3 separate regions of the Homo sapiens genome follow, and all the other regions are linked to region 2. The links are contacts of gene promoters, found by promoter capture Hi-C in blood cells and fetal thymus (Javierre and others, 2016). All regions are on one chromosome and are shown on one strand. The core of a region is centred on a gene start or on the middle of the fragment in contact, and the rest is flanking DNA. Distances in the headings are between cores, read along the strand shown. Region 1 overlaps LINC02286 (long intergenic non-protein coding RNA 2286). Region 2 holds the start of CMA1 (chymase 1). Region 3 overlaps LINC02286 (long intergenic non-protein coding RNA 2286).

Region 1 (3,873 bases), core at 574-3,073, 620 kb before region 2:
TCCTTATCAAATCCAAAGTACAATTAGCCAAGATCCTGATTGAAATTTAGAGCTTTACCTAATGACGACTGACCAGAAATGGATGTAATTCAGTCAGTAACTAATATGAGTGATGTTTTTCTCATCATCTCCCTTTCAAAATCCTTCCTCAACCACAAGAAACTCAAGGAGTAAATGCAGAGATGTTAAAAGGTATAGACAGGACATCTAGGATTATAGGATTATTAGAGACTGTCTCCTCCAGACTCTTATCAAGCCTGAGTTAAGTGTAACGTGAAAATTCAATCCTTTCACTTCATTCCCTGATGAATGAAAACCAAAAGAAAATCTCAATCCAGACGCTTAGGAATGTGAGTTTCTAGACAGCTGAGTTTTCTAGCAAGATAAAAGCTAACGCTTTAGAACTAGATATATTTTTCCTTTTTGTCTAATGATTTTATTCTAATTATCACTTAGAACTGCCGTACAAATTTGAATTCGCCACTTCTCTTCACTTTTCAATTAATTTATCAAGTTTTCATATTCCCTATTATCAAGAGGCACGGTATCGGCTTCTTTAAGCCTTCTCCATGTACACACTGGGCTTTGTCCCTGGATGCTGAAGCCCTCACACTCCAGGAAGAGAGAGCTGCTTAGTTTTCAAGGCTGGGCTGGGAGAACCCGCATATAATTCTACGGAGTTATAACTGTCACTGCTCCTCTCTGCCACACGGTGGCACTGTTGAAGACTGGCTCTACCCAGTCATGCGTGTCCGCTGCTGCAGAGCCTCTGCCCGCCTAGACCCAGGTAGAAATTTCCGTGGCTCCCAGAGGAAGGACGGCCCCATCTCCCAGGGCTGAGCTCAGCCACGTGGTTGCAGCTCTTCCTTCCTTGCACTCTCGTGCCGCATACGCCAGCTTCCCCAAATGCTGCCCACCCCCGAGGGATGCCGTTCAGGACTCTTCCAACATTCACCACTTCTCAGATCCAGAATCCTTTTCTCTCTTCCCTCCCTCAGAATGGGGTGTATAGTTGGATTTTAAACCTTCAAAACACAAAAGTTCTTATTACAGCCCTCTTTCCTGTACAACCTACACCAACCTCTCTCAGGAAAGCTATCCTCAGTGACTCCTAGGTGCCCTTACCCAGCCCCAGCCTCCTATTCACTTTCCTGACTTCTTAGACAAGATACACTGAACACAATTTAACTTTTTGTTAACAAAAAGCTTTAACAAAAAAGTCTCACAGCCATCATTATGAACATCATAGTTTGGTTTGGTTTGGCCGTGGGATTTTTTTTAAGGTAAGCATACACGTGTCTTTTGTATTAGAAAAATTATAGATTGGAGACATGATTTGACAATCCTATTGCAGAACTAATATTTTGGGGAGATCCTTGATTTCTAACCCATCTCTGGCTGGGAAGCACATGCTCTTTGCAGTTCACCATGTGGCCTCCCCACCTCCCTGCCTCACTGCCTCTCTACCCAGGACTCTCTGACATATGCCATCACTTCTTCAGTCTTACTCACTTCTTTTTTACATACATATCTTTATGCTTCAGCTAAATTTAACTATGACCATTTCTCCAAAAACAAGCTATAGTTTCCCATCTCTGTGCCTTTGCTCATGTTGTTCCTATTTTCCTAAATTGCCCCTTATTTTATCCCTGCCTTTTGAAAGCTTAACAACCCTTTGAGGTCCACCCACACACTAAATCCTCCTCCAGGTTTTTTATAATCCCTCCCGCTGAATGTGATCTCTTCCTCCTTTGTACTTCCACAGCAAATTATGCATTATCTCTTTTAAGATAATTTCATTCCTACATTGCCAACATTTGAGATGTTGACTTCAGTGAACATAGAATTTTAATTTTTTTTCTACAGCATTGAGAATAGCATCTTATACTTAGTAAGCATTTAGTAAATACATACTGGATGGAATTTCATTGCCAAACGCATACTTGAACCTTTAGTAAAATTCTTCTGCTAATCTAAGCTTGGTCCCTTTTAGCGTACTCTAATCGCATGAGGATTAAATTCAAAAGAGAAAATATAAAATAGGAAAAAAAGGAGGATACTGAAGTTTTGTATAGGTTGCAAAAGTCCCAAATGGTTCTGAGAGCTAGGAATTTCTACTTATACGTTCAGTGACCTCACGGCATAGAAGAAAATCATCCATGTTTGCAGCTGAGAAAGATAAATGGGGAATTGGGGGATGTAAAAATGGGGGTGTCATTTCATAGAGCTGATCACTCTCTCTTCTCTTGGTTCCCATGATGACACTCTTGCTTTGCTTTCCTGACATCCAACTGATCCCAGTTCCCTCTCCTCAATCTCTTGATGCTGGAGTACCCCAGAACTTAGTTCCACCTCTTCTATTGTTCTCCATCTACCCCTTCTTCCTAAGAGGTTAACTTTGCCACATGAGCAACTTACAATCCACTAGAAAATGACTGATAAGGAGCACTGATCTTAACCATCATAATATATTTCCAGCTTCTGACATTGGCACAGAGACTTGCAGGCTGTGAGTGACAGGTGGCAGTGAGTGTATAAAATCAGAACTTTAGTTCACCTAGGTGTTTCTTTGGGCATGTGATGATTTGTAAGACTTGTGAATAAAATCAAGTGCATGTTTGAGAACCAGCCGTACCCAGTGATGTGTATCTCCTGCTTCAAAGAGCTTTTGCTGGTCTAGACCCAGGTAAAGATTTCTTTTACCTGGAAAGAAAAGGATAAGTAGAAATGATCCTGAACCAATGTTTTTCCTTCTGCTTTTCTTGATGGTAATCAGAGAACTCCACAGACATTAGACCTCATAAGGCAAGTCACTGTGTGTTTACACATGCCAAATGTTTTGTTCTTTGGAGCCTTTTTAAGAATGGAAGAAAATAAAAAATGCAAGAGCCTTTTATGATCATTTATTGTACCGCTGCTAATTTGAAGCCTGCCACTCATAACATGGGGAATGATGATTACTATACATATAGTACTATATACATAGAAATATATAGTAATATAGATATCATCATATACATTTATATATAGTATATATTATATACAATAATATATAGTATTTAATATATACGATAATATATCGTACATAATATATACGATAATATATCGTATATATTGTTTATACATAATATACTATATATTCCTATTTTCCTAAATTGCCCCTTATTTTATCCCTGCCTTTTGAAAGCTTAACCATCCTTTGAGATATATATTATATAATGTTATATATTATAGCATATTATATATTTTATTATATTATATAGCATACATAATATAGTATATATAAAACAATATATACTATATATAGACATGTCTATATATAGTATATATAGTAATATATGTTACTATGTCTATATATAGTATATATTGTTTTACATATAACATATATAGTAATATATATTACTAGATATTAAAATATATATAAAAATATTACTGTATATTTCTATATATAGTAATCTTATTATATATTACTATATATAGAATAAGATTACTATATATAGAATATATTCTATATATTTCATATATATAGAATATATTACTATATATTTCATATATATAGAATATATTACTATATATTTCTATATATATAGTAATCATCATTCCCCTTGTTATGAGTGGCAGGCTTCAAATTAGCAGTGGCACAATAAATAATCATAAAAAGTTCTTGCATTTTTTATTTTCCTTCCATTCTTAAAAAGGCTCCGAAGAACAAAACATTTGGGATGTGTAAGCACAGAGTGACTTGCCTTATGAGGTCTAATGTCTGTGGAGTTTTCTGACTTTATATATATGTGTGTGTGTGTGTATATATATATATGACTATATATATATGAATATATATATATGACTATATATATATAGTACTATATAGAG
Region 2 (3,999 bases), core at 59-2,558:
TATACTAAGGAGTGGATCACTCTGGTCACAAGCCCAACCTGAGACCAAGGGCATAGTGAGATGATTTGGGAAAGGCACTTATACACTACTCATCCCCGTCTTTGAACTAAATGCCTTATAAATCTCCAAGAGAAATGACAGTCCACCATGTGGACTGCTTTCTGTAAGTCCAGGGAAAATAAAAGCTATGTGCTTGAAACCCACTTCTGATATTATAAGGTGTGTGATCTTTGTCATGTTAATGGGTCTGAGTATCAATTCTACAATTGTAAAGTGACAGTAATGGTGTGTCCCCAGGTTGTTGTGGAAAGCTTGATTCTTAATGCAACAGTAGGAAACCCCAACCTCTCTGGAGCAAACACCCTTCTACATCTTTACTTCCCCTGCACATTGGCAGGACTCTATTCCTCTATTTCTCTCTAGTGCTAGAGCAGAAAGGGACCTTGATTTGATATCAGGAAAATCTATTTCTGAACCATAAGCTATGATAGCTGATTTAAAAAATTGACTATCATGACATGATAATGATCATAATGGTAATACATATTGATAGGGTTGCCGTGAAAGTAATAATATATCTAAGAGTTGTGACAATATATGATACACCTAGACTCTCAGAAAATGCTAATTCCAATCCCAATTGCTCTTTGCATAAAGTTCTGTCCTAGGGTCTGTTCTTTTCCCACATCTACCCTCCTTGGATCTCTCTTCTGTCAAAAACATGTGGTTCAGAGGAGGAGAGAGATCCAGGTCAATGTTTTTCAAATTACAAGGAATTATCATTTAAATGGGGTTGTTGCTCAAGTTTTGACGTGTAGTGGAATGGAGTGGAGTGGAGTGGAATGGAAACTAACAGAAAACACTGCACATGGTTAAGATAAAGATTGTTTCCTGAAACCTTTAATTTGTGCTTACATACTCACACATACATATGTGCATGCACTGGGACTCTGCAATATGCATTTCTGACTATGGAACATAGCCATAAAAGTCTTTGCACTGAACGTTCAGTGGGCCTTTCACAAGCTGCCCTAATTGGGAAAGAAAAACATGGTCCCTCCATTTCCTGCCCCCAACTCCAGAAAAGTCACCATAGTTGAGGGTACATCTGAGAAGCCAGCACTTGGGAGTTCAGGGCTCAAGTTCCTTTCTAGAAAAACACTGGGTGATTCTAGGGGAACTTCTGATCAGAAACAGCCAATTCAGAGTGAGAGAAGAAAACGTGACCATGCAGTTCCTGTGGTTACCAGCCTTGCCCCTCTCTTGCCTTCTGGGAGTTATAAAACCCAAGACTGGAAAGGAAAACCAGCATTTGCTCAGGCAGCCTCTCTGGGAAGATGCTGCTTCTTCCTCTCCCCCTGCTGCTCTTTCTCTTGTGCTCCAGAGCTGAAGCTGGTGAGTATCAGGGTTCTTCCCTCTGAAATCTGCAGTATCAGCTCCTGAAACAAAGATGTTTAGTCTGAAAATAGCTGACTCCTAAACAGGGTTCCAAGATCTCTCTTCAAGAGTCCCAGAGGGAAATTTCCACTTGGGATGTGTGCCACCCCACCCCCACCCCCACCCACTGCCATTCTCTACAGCCTAGGACAGCCCCCAGGAACAAGGAATTTCACCTCAATTGTAGAAAAGCCCAGAGCAAGTGGAAGGAAAAGGGGTATCCCCAGGAAAACAGACATGTCCTCTTAATCTTCTGAGCATCAGGGCTACCCATTACTTTGTGACTTTCTCACTCTGTGACCATGCTCAAGAGCTATGGAGAAATCTAAAACAGGAACCTGGACAGTGGGTCCTACACAGAGACAGAGGAGGGTGGGCCAGGGCAAGGTGGGAGTGGGAGAAGTCTGAGATGAAAACATCAGAATGGAGCAGAGGCAAGAATGAGATTTCACCTGGGAGGTTATGGGTGGGGAAAGATACGAAATACAGGAGACAGGAGAGGGAAGATGGGCGGAACACAGGGTGAGAATGAGATTCCAGGGAAGCCTAGCTCAGCTTTAACCCAATTTGTCCATTCATTGGAGAGAGTATCTATGGCCGTGTTCAAACCCTGGGGTGCTCTGTTCCAGGGGAGATCATCGGGGGCACAGAATGCAAGCCACATTCCCGCCCCTACATGGCCTACCTGGAAATTGTAACTTCCAACGGTCCCTCAAAATTTTGTGGTGGTTTCCTTATAAGACGGAACTTTGTGCTGACGGCTGCTCATTGTGCAGGAAGGTGAGACAACAGGGTCTATTTATCTCCAAATGGGAGATGAACAACCAGAGTAGCATCCAGGAATACACCTGCACTGGGGACTGAAGAGGGGGTCCTGGGTCTTGTCAACTTTCAGGAGAGGGAAGACTTGGGCTGAAAGACTTTAGTCTGTGTTTGAATAGTTCCTTGAGCCTCAGTCACTGTGAGCTAAGCTCCCCTTCGGAGGAAAAGGAGGTCCTGTCCAAGGTCCCTCTTGTTGCAGTAGCACCCCTCACCCCTACCCAACTCAAGACACACGGCTCACTTTTCAGGGCCCCACCCAGTCTCAGGGCCACTTCCTCTATGGCCTTTTCAAGAACACTGGCCTCTAGTTCTCAGGGTCCTGAACCCATCATTTTATGGGAGGCAGAGAACAGGGTCTACATGAGACCCCCACTTTCCCGTTTAACTGATATCTCCTGCTTCAGGGGCTGGCCCTCATGCAGGGTTCCCTGAATTAGGAAGTGTGAACCCTGTCCCCTGAGTCCTCCCTGGCCTGTTCAGTCCCCAGCAATTCCAGGGGTCGTAGAAATTGTGTCTGTTTCCTGAGAAAGCTCTTTCATGAGTTAAGCCTGAGCCCTCAAATGCCACAAGTGGCCCATGAAAAGGGAGATGGGTAGAGTCCGGCGACCCAGTGACAGAGTTTAGTCCTCTTTTCTCAGAATGAGCTCACCTCAGAAGAAACCCCAAGCCATCACTGTCGCTCCTTTTCCTTCCTTCTTCCTCACAACAGGTCTATAACAGTCACCCTTGGAGCCCATAACATAACAGAGGAAGAAGACACATGGCAGAAGCTTGAGGTTATAAAGCAATTCCGTCATCCAAAATATAACACTTCTACTCTTCACCACGATATCATGTTACTAAAGGTGACAACACCTCTCTTCTCCCTTTCCACTTCCCATTCTCCTAAGCTTCTCCTTCAGGTCCTCATTGCCCTGAATTTTTCTTAGGACTTGGCTATAACATGAAGCTACTCACCCTGTCCCTCCCTGATCACCTCCAACTGTCCAGAGCCCATTTCGAGGACTGACAGTCCTTCATTCCCTTCACAGTTGAAGGAGAAAGCCAGCCTGACCCTGGCTGTGGGGACACTCCCCTTCCCATCCCAATTCAACTTTGTCCCACCTGGGAGAATGTGCCGGGTGGCTGGCTGGGGAAGAACAGGTGTGTTGAAGCCGGGCTCAGACACTCTGCAAGAGGTGAAGCTGAGACTCATGGATCCCCAGGCCTGCAGCCACTTCAGAGACTTTGACCACAATCTTCAGCTGTGTGTGGGCAATCCCAGGAAGACAAAATCTGCATTTAAGGTGATCCTCCAACTAGGTTTCCTCTCCAAAACTCACTGTTCAGGGACCAGAATGCTCTTAGAAGGAGATGGGGTCAGAAGGTTGTCAGTCAGTGACAGGGTGAGCATCACAGGAATTGCTGTCCTCCCGTGGTCCAAGACAGCCTCTGACCATCCATTCCAGTCTACTGCACTGGGGGCATGGGGTGATGTGGAGAATGTGGATGACGGTCCCAAGAAAGGAAGAAGGGGCATCAGAACTAGATGTATAAGTGAGGAGCTCCACCTCCTGCGTCTGACTTTAGGTCTCACTGTGACTCCAAGCTGGCTGGCAGACAGGAGTGGAGGACTTCCCGGGCTCACCTTCTTCTCTCTCTCCTCCCCCTACAGGGAGACTCTGGGGGCCCTCTTCTGTGTGCTGGGGTGGCCCAGGGCATCGTATCCTATGGACGGTCGGATGCAAAGCCCCCTGCTGT
Region 3 (3,469 bases), core at 598-3,097, 640 kb before region 2:
AATTAGCCCACATTCTTGTATCAGAACAGTAGATAGGCAGACAATAAGAATATACTGACTTGAAAAGATGTCCAAGATATTTTATTAAGTGAAGAAATCAATTTATAGAACAATATGTATAACATGAACCCATGTGAAATAAGACAGTGCGTGTGTGTGTGTGTGTGTGTGTGTGTGCGCGTGCGCACATGCATGCACACAAAAAAATGTCTGGTGGTTGCATGTCTAAGTACATAGTTCTAGGCTATGGTTTTGGCGGAACTCAGGCTGGAAAAAAAGGAGGAATTTTTACCTTTTACTTCATATCCTTCTGTTTGGACATTTTTACAGTAAGCACATACTGCATTTATAGTTGTTACAGTTTGTTCCTTTCTGGATCTGCACTCTTGAGACCCTCCTCCTTCTCCCCTGCAGCACGACTTTGCCTCCCAGCTCCCAAGAATCAAGGGCAGGCTGTACTCTCCTGATGTGACTCAGGCCCTCCTAGACCTCAGGGCCTCATGAAAGACAGAGTTTGCTTAGATTTACTGATAATTTCACTTTGTGACTTCACTTTGTGGCCAGTCCTTTCTGGCTCTCTGATCTTCAGACCACAAAAATGTCATCCAGCTCTAAGTTTGATCCCAATTCTACGCAGACTAGAAAGGGCATGCTGGGACAATGACAAAACATTAATTTTGGGGGCAAACAAGCTTTGTTTCCAATAAATAACATAGAATGAATTCCTGGAACATAAGTGTGTTATGTTCACCATAAATGTGTTACATAAGTGCAGCCTGATCACATAATACTAAAAAATCAGTAAAAATACCGATTTGAAATTATTTTTATAGAAACATGATTTTACCTGAACTTCCCTATTATTTTTTCTATGGACTCAAAATTCTTCTCTTATTTTTATTTTATTTATTTTCAAGGAGAAATTCATTGTCCGATATTCACTTTTCAGAAAATTCAGTCAAAATTTGCTTACAAGCCGTGCAGATGTTTCTTATAACCACTAGGGGTCAGACTACTACGTTAGTAGAAGTCAAACCCAACTTGAAACGTGGTATTAATTGGTTGAGGATCAGGCTGACATTCTCCTGCATAAGAACAGAAGACTGACCATTTAAATTAAACATTTTATAAAGGAGATAATGAGAAAGAATGCATTTGACAAGAGAGACTCAGAAAGTTGAAACTATCATATATATAATAAATATAACATAGTAAAGAAATTTCATCCTTAATAAAAATTTCAATTATTCACTTGCTCATTCTCATTGGCAAGATATTACTCCAGTCTAAGTGGGCTCAGATCAGAGGATTAATCATTGAACTGGGCAAATGTTAAGAGAGCAGAAACAACTAAAATCATGAAACTGTCAACAAAAAAGAAGAAATCCTCATTTATAAAGGATAAACCACATGACTAGCAGAGGATTGAGATGAATGGCAGAAACATTTTTCCAATGGATTTCAGCCATGGTAACAATAAATCTGAGTCATCTCACAGCAATGGGTGTATTCAGGAGTGTGGGCAGAGGGCAGCTCTGGACTGGGCCTCTGTTCCACTCCCAGCTCTGCCACAAATTGACCCTGTGGTCCTGAACACACTCCTTCTCTTCTCCTGATCTCAAAATGTCTTGAGTAAGATTACATGATTTATAAAGAATCTTCAGGCCTTAAAATTAAACAGATTTATCTAACAATATTGTTACATAAAAGGTAAGAAAGTGAGGGGAAAACTTGCCAAGATTTAAGTTTTAACAAAAATTTTACAAATGAGGGTATTCACTCTCAAGATACATTATTACAAATTGTGTTTTTTAAAAATGGAACAAACTGAGATCATAGACCATATTTACTGTCAGACAAAGTAATAAAAAGTCAAAATTTATTTACATTTTTAATGATAGTGTTTTGAAGTAAATACTCTAAGTGTATATGTAAACATATATGCGGGTTATTCCCTGGAATGATAAACAAATTAAAAAGTGGTTACCTGTTGGGGGCGGGGTAGAATTAAATGGATATGGATAGTGTGGCTATAAGAATATAAGGTTTGCTTCTTCATATATTGTTTTGATGTTTTTGTGATTGTATTATATGATGTATTACATTTTTTAAATTTTGAATATATCCATTGCCTATTCAAATTTTTTAAAAATTAATTTTAAACTTTATACATAGGACAAAAATGTGGGCCAATACAAAAATAAACACAACTGAATATGAAAATCCTCCATGATTTGAATGGGGGTTAGAAATGACACAGGGATATTCGTTACTAATATAAGTTGGCAATACAACAGTGATACTGTGTTTTAAATGGCCTGCATCAAAATACCTCAACCAAATTGGTCACATCTTAATGGTTGTATCTAAAGATTTTATTTGGTAGATTTTTCACCTGTGCCCCAAACCCTCACTGAGCTGCTTATACCTCATATGACACCAAATCAGGAGAAGGAAGAAGTTCCTCCCTCCCCCTTTTTTCTTTACATACACACATGCATGCACACACAGGCACACACTGGCTTGTGTGTCAATGAATATTAATATATGCAAATAAACAATGGAGATGGTTACAGGGAAATTGATTCTGCAAATTGCTAACCTAACTCACAGCCTTCTCAATATACAGGTCAAATGTAATTTCTATCAAAATTCCAGCAAGAGAATTTGTAGATGTAGACAAGATTATGGTAAAATGTATATGGAAAGGCAAAGGAACTAGAATAGCTACAACCATTTTGATAAAGAATAAAGCAAGAAGAATTACTCTACTTGATTTCAAATTATATAGCTACAGTAATCAAGGCTACATGGTGATAAAATAGACACATACATTGATGGAGCAGAATGGAGAACCCAAAATAGACCCATACAAATATGTGCAGTTACTTTTTCACAAAGGTGCAAAAACAATTCAATGGAGGAACGATAACTTTTCAACAATGGTGCTGAAACAATTGGACATCCGTAAGCCAAAAAGATGAACGTGGCCCTAAGCTTCAACATCAAATTAAAATTAACTCAAAAAGTATTAGCCTGAGCAACATGGTGAAACCTCATCTCTAAAGAAAAGTACAAAAGATTAGCCAGGCATTATGGCATGTGCCTGTGGTACCAGCTACTCAGGAGGCTGAGGTGGGAGGATGGCTTGAGTGTAGGAAGTCAAGGCTGCACCCCAGCCTGGATGACAGGGCAAGGCCCTGTCCCCCCCACCCAAAAAAAAAGGATTAAAGATTTAAGTGAAATTTTAAAACTATAAAACTTTTAGAAAAAAGTAATAAGAGAAACTCTTCAGAATCTAAGACTAAAGAATTTTTAGATTTGACACCAAAATCATGCCATAAAAGAAAAGATTGATAAATTGAATTTCATCAAAATTTCATACTTTTTACAAAAAATTAGCCGGGCATGGTGGTGGATGCCTATAGTCCCAACTACTCTGGAGGCTGAGGCAGGAGAATGGTGTGAA

Evidence for each region. The method cuts DNA at HindIII sites, captures the fragments that hold promoters and counts their contacts. A CHiCAGO score of 5 or more calls a contact.
Region 1: a contact is called between a fragment that was not itself captured here and the fragment with the promoter of CMA1 in region 2, in 3 of 17 cell types (total CD8 T cells, naive B cells and total B cells). The highest score is 5.9, in total CD8 T cells.
Region 3: a contact is called between a fragment that was not itself captured here and the fragment with the promoter of CMA1 in region 2, in 2 of 17 cell types (erythroblasts and total CD8 T cells). The highest score is 7.1, in erythroblasts.

What each region holds. Positions count from the first base shown.
Region 1 is chr14:25,129,844-25,133,716 of GRCh38, reverse strand. All of the region lies in intron 3 of LINC02286 (long intergenic non-protein coding RNA 2286), which reads left to right. Among named protein-coding and RNA genes, the nearest start is that of LINC02286, 24 kb to the left of the region's middle. RefSeq lists silencers at 609-658, 560-854. The HindIII fragment of the contact is 315 bases long and covers 1,666-1,980 here.
Region 2 is chr14:24,505,574-24,509,572 of GRCh38, reverse strand. It overlaps CMA1 (chymase 1), which reads left to right and starts at 1,308. Exons shown (of 5, transcript NM_001836.5): 1 at 1,308-1,395; 2 at 2,067-2,217; 3 at 2,969-3,104; 4 at 3,291-3,545; 5 at 3,914-3,999. The coding sequence starts at 1,338. RefSeq lists an enhancer at 1,500-2,699. The HindIII fragment of the contact is 2,718 bases long and covers 314-3,031 here.
Region 3 is chr14:25,148,654-25,152,122 of GRCh38, reverse strand. All of the region lies in intron 2 of LINC02286 (long intergenic non-protein coding RNA 2286), which reads left to right. Among named protein-coding and RNA genes, the nearest start is that of LINC02286, 5.9 kb to the left of the region's middle. The HindIII fragment of the contact is 2,305 bases long and covers 695-2,999 here.